Regions from separate parts of the Homo sapiens genome. Here region 2 is linked to region 1. The links are contacts of gene promoters, found by promoter capture Hi-C in human tissues and cell types (Jung and others, 2019). All regions are on one chromosome and are shown on one strand. The core of a region is centred on a gene start or on the middle of the fragment in contact, and the rest is flanking DNA. Distances in the headings are between cores, read along the strand shown. Region 1 holds the start of MGAT5B (alpha-1,6-mannosylglycoprotein 6-beta-N-acetylglucosaminyltransferase B). Region 2 holds the start of LOC105371899 (a long non-coding RNA gene).

Evidence for each region. The method cuts DNA at HindIII sites, captures the fragments that hold promoters and counts their contacts. A contact is called where the count stands out against the background at its distance.
Region 2: a contact is called between a fragment that was not itself captured here and the fragment with the promoter of MGAT5B in region 1, in 2 of the 25 tissues and cell types used here (adrenal gland and dorsolateral prefrontal cortex).

Annotation. Positions count from the first base shown.
Region 1 is chr17:76,866,884-76,870,584 of GRCh38, forward strand. It overlaps MGAT5B (alpha-1,6-mannosylglycoprotein 6-beta-N-acetylglucosaminyltransferase B), which reads left to right and starts at 1,521. Exons shown (of 18, transcript NM_001199172.2): 1 at 1,521-2,214. The coding sequence starts at 2,147. RefSeq lists an enhancer at 724-1,018 and a silencer at 1,356-1,665. The HindIII fragment of the contact is 29,656 bases long and covers 1-3,701 here.
Region 2 is chr17:76,965,939-76,969,550 of GRCh38, forward strand. LOC105371899 (a long non-coding RNA gene) reads right to left here and starts at 3,261. Exons shown (of 3, transcript NR_136417.1): 1 at 2,946-3,261. RefSeq lists a silencer at 3,112-3,191 and an enhancer at 3,440-3,612. The HindIII fragment of the contact is 4,995 bases long and covers 1-3,612 here.

The DNA.
Region 1 (3,701 bases), core at 271-2,770:
CTGGCTTCTGTGGAGGGTAGGCCACCTCCCCAGATGACCCACACCAGAGGTGGCCATGCCTTCTAGGGAACCCCATCTCCACCACTGAGGAAGAGGCTTCCCCTTTGGCCTAAAATGGCAACCAGATATAAATGCCACCCCCTAAGCCTACTCAATCAGAAGAACCCCCAATCAGAAGAGAGACACCTAATCAGAAGGACCATTTCATTCCTTAGTGTAGATATGGCTTATTGCCAGGATTTGTGGCAGATGTAGGCACCCAGGCATGAGATGTGATTTACAGGCCTGGCAGAGACCTCTGCCCTCCAACATCTCCTTAGCCAGCCTGCCACGATGCCCAAATTTCCGGCCACCATTCATCACTCTTCTGCACAAAGGCACGGTCAGCATGTCCTTGTTCAATGCAAATTTGTTACCTAGCCTGTGTAACACATTATATCTGCTAACACCAATTTATCACCCATTTTCACATTAGCAGAGAGCAAGGCAGTGAGATAATGGAACTCAGCACCGGTAAATTTTGATGAAGAAGGAGCAGCAAAGCAGAGAGCGTGAGTCATGGCCAGTGAGTAATGGCCCAGGAAGGGGGCCGGGAGGTGGGCAGGGCAGGCAGCAAGGGGCCTGGGTATGGGGGATTGGAGGGGACCAGGCCCAGCTGGAGGAAAATAAAGTCTCCTCCTCGCATAAGCCAGGCTGCAGCATCGTGGCCTGAGCTGGGAAGACCCTCAGAGTCATTTGACACATGACTGAGGCTTTGGGCACTTCCCAGGGTGGGGTGGTCAGATATGACCTCGGGAAGTGCTTTTGAAGCCGGAGAGCTTTCTTCAGGCTGGCTCTGCGAGCTCCCAGGAGTCTCTGTCTCTGCAACTGCAAACACATCTCCAGAGCCAGGAAGTACGAGGAGGGGGAGGGGAGGACGCCTAGATGCTAAGAGACGACATGAGATCCTACATGCTTTAGGGTTGCAAGGGACCTTGGTGAGCTTCTGGTCACTATCATTTCATAATGGAGACTCTGAGACGTGCACACTTGATCGCCCACTGGCTAGTGGAGGATCTGGGGCTACAACTCAGTACGCCCCTGCGCCTGGCTCTGTGAGCGGGCCCCAGCACCACAGGCCGAGTTTATACTCAGATCAGTAAGCAAAGAGGAGCCACGGGAGTTTCTGACCAGGGAGGGGCAGAAGATAGGCATGTGTTGCCAAGCGAAATCGTGGGAAGCGGCTGATGAGGAAGCCCACGGAGGCACCTGGCAGAAGAGAAGGGTCTCCGCTGGGTGCGCATCTCTTCTGTGCTCTGCGGGAGCCAAAGCAGCTTTCGGCCCTCGGGGCTGGTGGCGCCCTGGGAAGCTGCTTGGCTCAGGGGAAGGAGCAGGGACCCCCGCCCGCCCGTCCTCGAAGCTGGTCCTCGGCGTCCCAGCCCCGCACGGCCCCGGGCAGGGCGCACAGCGGGGCTGCGGCCACGAGGTGGCGCCGGCGCGCCTTGGAAGCGCAGCTGCAGCTCCCGGGCCGCCCCAGCGCCGCTCGGCCGCCTCCTCCGAGGAACAATGCGGCGCCTCCGGGCGTAGCGTCGCGCGGGGCCGGACGCCGGACACCAGAGCGCGGGCGGCGGAGCCAGCGGGCGAGAGAGCGCGCGGCGGGCGCGGGTTGCCCTCGTCGAGAGCCATGGGCGCGGCGCGGCGCGGGGCTGAGGATCGGCGCGGCCCGGAGGCGCTGGGGACCGGGGCGCGGGCCCGGGGCCGCCTTTAGCCGGCACCGAGGGCGCGGGGCCGGGGATGAGGGCGCCCGCCGCGGGGAGCCCGTCTGCGCGCCGCGGCACCTTCCCGCCCAGCGAGCGAGCCCGAGCAGGCAGACGCGCGGCCGGCGGTCTGGGGGCGCGCCGCCTCCCGGTCCCCAAAATGTGAAGCGGGGAGGGCGGAGACGCAGAGACGGCCCGGCCGGGCGCCCTCGCCGCCCTCCGGCAGCCGCGCCGCTCCCTCCGCTGCACGCCCAGGCCTGAGCAGCGAGGCCACCGGGCCGCGCGCTCCCAGCTTCGCTCGGACGCGGCTTCGGCCCGCAGAGGGTTCGTGGCCCGGACGCGGCGAGAGCTGGGCCCAGGACGGTGCGTCCGGCCTCGCCCGCGGCTGCTCGCACCAACAAGTTTGAACAATGATCACCGTCAACCCCGATGGGAAGATAATGGTCAGAAGATGCCTGGTCACCCTGAGACCCTTTCGGTAAAGTTCCCTCCTGGTTGGTTTTTTCCCCAGGGGGGCGCCGGGTGGAGGTGGGCGAGGTCGGTTCCTGCGAACGTTCAAGTCCTGGTGGCAGAGGGGGCGGTTCACACTTCAACCCCTGGTGATGACCAGTGGGGCTGGGCTGGGGGAACGGATGGCGTTGGGGTTCGGGGTGCGGATGGGGAGGGTTGTGTTATTCGGGGACCTGTCCCGAGTTGGGCAGGGTTGGAGAGGACTCGGGGTGCAGAGGTAAGAATGGGGGCAGAAAACCCCCAGGTCGTGGTCCTGGGCCCAGAAAGTTGCCCCAGCCTGCGCGCCCCTTCCCAGCCCCTCAGGGTCCTTCCTCACCCCGCGGACGGTCCCATCCGGGTGGCAAAGTTAGTGTGCGGCGCCTTGGAGCTCCCCCTCCGGTCCCTCCCGTCCCGCCCGTCTGCCCCTAGGTCGGCTACCCCCCAACCCCTCCGCCTGTGCCACCCTCTCCCCAGCCTTTGGTGGCACTGCTCTCCTCCCCGCGGGGCTCGGGCCTGGCTCCGACGAGAGGGTCCCGAGATTAGAGCGAGGACTCGCTCATCCCAGGATTCGCCCCCGATCGCAGGCGTCGGAGAGGCGGGGGCAGGGGCGGCGCTGCAGGGCTACGGGGCGGCTGGAGCCGAGGCTGCGGCGGAGCGTGGTGGGCGGGCGGTGGCGAAGGCGACACGCTTCGGGCGGCCAACACCTGGGGGCCCAGGCCAGGCAGGGCTGGGGCCGCGCGGGACTCACTGGACCCAGCCAGGGGCCCCCAGGGCCCAGCGGTGCCGGGGCAGCCCCCTCTCCTCCCAGGCATCCGCGGAACCGGCCCGCAGCGGGGTGGGGAGGGGGCGCTGCCCAGTGGACGCCCGGCGGGGCCCGAGTGTCACCCCGTGGGTAGCTGGGCAGCGAGGAAGCTGGGGGAGTGACCGCCCCGGCGCGGGGGCCGGACTCGGGACGTGGCCACAGGTGGGCTCCGGGCGCGGGAAGGAGCCCGAGAAGGCGGAGCTTGCAGGGGCCCTGAACTCTTGCCCTCCAGGTCTCGGCCCAGCCCCACTGTGGTCCCCCTGCCGGCTCCAGACGGGGATGGGGGCGGGGAGACGGTGGCTCACCTGGAGCCCGCCTCCCAGCACACCGGGCCTGTCTGCTGGGCCGAGGAGGCAACCCCAGGGGACGGCAGGGGTCAGGCTGGACCTCTGCGGTCCGGGGGTCCGGGAGGCCCGGAGAGCTGGTGCAGGCCGTGGGTGGTGATGGGGGCGTCGGGAGCCCATGGGAAGCAGGGCGGGAAGCAGGCGTCTCTGGAAAGGGCCTTGCTCCTCCAGGGAAGGCCTTGAATCCCTGGCCTGACTGGGAACGCTGGAGGGTCCTCGCCCCTTCCGACCCCATCCCTGTCCCGCCCTCCGGGCCGCTGGGTGTTTCCTGGCGCGATTGGAAGCAGCCGCGAGACCCCAGCACCACGGACAGTGCTCGCGACCCAGGGC
Region 2 (3,612 bases), core at 178-2,677, 99 kb after region 1:
TAGATAAGGAAACTTCAGAGATCGGCTTCATCCTGTGCTCTGAGAGAGACAGAGGACTGCGGGGGAGGTCAGAGAGACCTTGAGGCCACCTCATGTCAAAGCGCCATGTTTTGGGGTATCAGTTGCTGGGTCCTGGAAAGGTCTTTGTTTCCACCCACCCATGTATCCATCCATCCATCCATTAAAAAGTAATTATTGCGTGCCTATCCTGAGCCAAATACTGTGTTTAAGCCCCCAGGACATGGCTCTTTGTCCCCTCTGCCCCTGGAGAGGGATGGCTCACTTGAACATTTAATGCTACAGTGGAATTATAATTATGAAAAACCACACACTGCAATTCAGGTTTAGGATGAAAGTATTAATTTCCTGGTTTTAATTATTCAATAGAAATTAATGAAAATTCAAGAGGAATCTCCAAGGAGCTTCGCTAACTAGCAGAGGTGGGGTGGATCGAGGAGATGAGAGTGGAGTGGAGTAAAGTGGAAGAGAGTGGGGTAAGCCAGAGGCTGAGGGCCCTGCACCTCTGCCCAGCCCAACTCATCTGGGAGCTTTCCCAGGGCCAAGGCACGAGCCTGCTGCATGAACCAAGCCTCAACCAAGACTCAGGGTTTGCTCATTCATCTGGGGGACTTCGGCTGGGCTATGTGTTGAGCTCCATCCCTGCTAGGATGATGCCAGACAGTGGGGAGATGAAGACCCAGCCCTGCCCTCAGGGAGCTCCTGGGTCATTGCAGGCAGACAGACCACACCTGTAGGGCCTGAGCTAAGCCCTGGAGTTCTGGCAACGCAGAGCCGGGCTGCTGGGACGAGGTGGGAGGTGAGGACAGGAAAGGCTTCCCTGAGAAGATGACTGGCAGAGTTCTGAGGGTCTCTCCCTCCTGGGTGAACTGAGAAGCCCCCTCTGAACAGACGCAAGGTAACATTTTAAAGTAGTGACCATTTGGGGCAGGATGATTTCCCAGCGTGGTAATGTGTCATTTGTCCTCACTTTAAAAGAATCCGAATTCAGATCTCTCTCTCCTCTCTCCCCTCTCTCCCCTCTCTCCCCTCTCTCTCCTCTCTCTCCTCTCTCTCCTCTCTCTCCTCTCTCCCCTCTCTCCCCTCTCTCCCCTCTCTCTCCTCTCTCATCCACCCCTAAGGGCTAGGAGGGTGGAAGATAAACTTCTGAGGGTGGGACGGCTCTGAGGCTTGGAGAATGGGAGACAGTTTCACAAAATGTCACTAAATGTTCCCCAGAAAGGAAGAGGATTGGAGCTTTGAGGGCAGATGATTCGGAGGGTGGGGGAACCTGTGTCCCAGTCCTAGGAGGCTCCCTACAAGGTGACAGGTCCTGAAAAGGGATGGCTGGACAGGCCATGATGACCCCAGGAGCTCTGGCCTCAGAAGCCCTGGCAAGGGGTCCCCACACCCAAGCTCAGTGCCAAGAAGGAAGCTTTGGATGGAATGCAATTGATTCCTGCCTTGTGGCCAGTTTTGCATCTATTTGTAAATTCATTTCCATGTTCCTGACTGCCTACTTAGGAGTGCCCTTTGAATTCTCCTTTGAACTTGGTTGTAGCACCTTGCAGGATCCCTCGTGAATTAATGAGTTAAATAAAACCATGGACACGTGTTTGTTCTATTTGATGAAGCCATGATACTCCTTTATAAAAAGTATTCTCTAGCAATGCCTTATAATCCTAGTAGTGAGAACTACTACATGCCCTCATGCTACGAGGAGGAACAGAGGCATAGCGACTTTAAGTAGTTTGCCCAAGGTCACACAGCTAGGTGGGGTGGGGCCAGGATTTGGATGCAGCAATCTGGTTCAAAGTCCTTAAAGAGCACTTGAGCTCTGTTATCTGTCAGTCCCCCAAGTAACCCCACAAAATAGGTACTTTATTTTTAGAGACAGGATCTCACTCTGTTGCCCTGGCTAGAGTACAGTGGCCCAATCACAGCTCACTGCAGCTTCAACCAGGAGGCTGAGGAGCTCAAGTGGCCCTCCCACTTCAGCCTCCTCAGTAACTGGGACTACAGGTGCACACTACTAGGCCCAACTAATTTTTTTACTTTTTGTAGAGTCGGGATCTTGCTATGGTGCCCAGGCTGGCCTCGAACTCCTGACCTCAAGCGATCCTCCTGCCTTGGCCTCCCAAAGTGCTGGGACTACAGGCATGAGCCACCCCGCCAGGCAAAATAGGTACATTATTTATGCTCAAGAACAGCAGCACAGAGGTTAAGTAATTCATCCTCCCTCCCACGGTAAGTGGCTATTTCTGTAGTAGGATCACTGTACACTCTGTGGTGGGTTTGATATCTGCACTCAGGGAAGCGCTGATAGAATATTAACAAAAATTGTGGCTAGCATCTATTGAGCACTTTCTCTTTTTTTTTGAGACGGAGTTTCGCTCGTCGCCCAGGCCAGAGTGCAATGGCGCCATCTCGGCTCACTGCCATCTCCCTCTCCCAGGTTCAAGCGATTCTCCTGCCTCAGCCTCCTGAGTAGCTGGGATTACAGGCGTGCGCCACCACGCCCGGCTAATTTTTTGTATTTTTAGTAGAGACAAGAGTTCACCATTGCTGGCCAGGCTGGTCTCGAACTCCTGACCTCAGGTGATCTGCCCGCCTTGGCCTCCCAAAGTGTTGGGATTACAGGCGTGAGCCACCGCGCCTGGCCCCTATTGAGCAATTCCTAAGTTCCAGATACTGTTGCAAAGGCTATACCCAGATCATCTCATTTACTCCTAAGTCCCTACAAGGAAGGTAATTTCATTAGCCTATGTTACAGATAGAAAGACTTTGAGGCACCCAGAGGGTGAGCGGCTTGAGTTTTTCTTCATCCCTGGGTTTATCTGAAGCTGAGCTCTGCCAGCGGACGTGGCCCGTAGCCGTCTGCCTTAAGAACTGGCCTGGACTCCCCAAACACCACCCTTCCTCTCCCGAGGCTCCCCAGCCCCACTTACACCCTGAAGGCGGATCCCTTGACTCCCGAGAGGCTGGCGGTGGAGTGCGCGGCAGGACCGCAGGGCTGATCTCTCCAGCTGGGCTGGGCTTTGGGGACATAGGCCTTGAAAATCTCCTAATTACCGGTGGGGGCGGAGCCGCGTCTCCAGGGTCTCGGGGAGGGCGTCGGGGGTCGGGGATTGCAGGTGCCCGCAGCCGGCCTCGGCTGTTTACCAGGCACCCGTTACGCTAATTGAAATGTGCCAAATAGCTGCCCGGGGCGGGGCCGAGCGGAGCAGCGGGCTCCGGGTCACCTGCGGTGTTGATGAGGTATTCAAGAGGAAAAAGCGCCGGAGCGGCAGCTTCATTTGCAAGGGAAATGACTTGACGAGGCCCTTCATTTGCATCTTTCGGCCCAGAGGTTCTGATTAGCTGCGGAGGAAAAGCCCGCCTGTTTTATGCATGAGGAGCTCTGCCTGGAGACCCTCGGCTGCTCACCCGCCCCAGCCCTGCCTTCTCCTCCTAAGTCGGGGAGGAGGAGAGGGGTCCCCAGAGGGCAGGATCCAAGGCTGAAGCCTAAGACCAACCCTTGGTGGTGAAAATAGAAATTTCTTGAGGCAAGGCTGCCATAAAGTGCAGTGAGACTCATCGGTGAGGGGGGCACTGTGCGATCTCCATCCGGGGTCT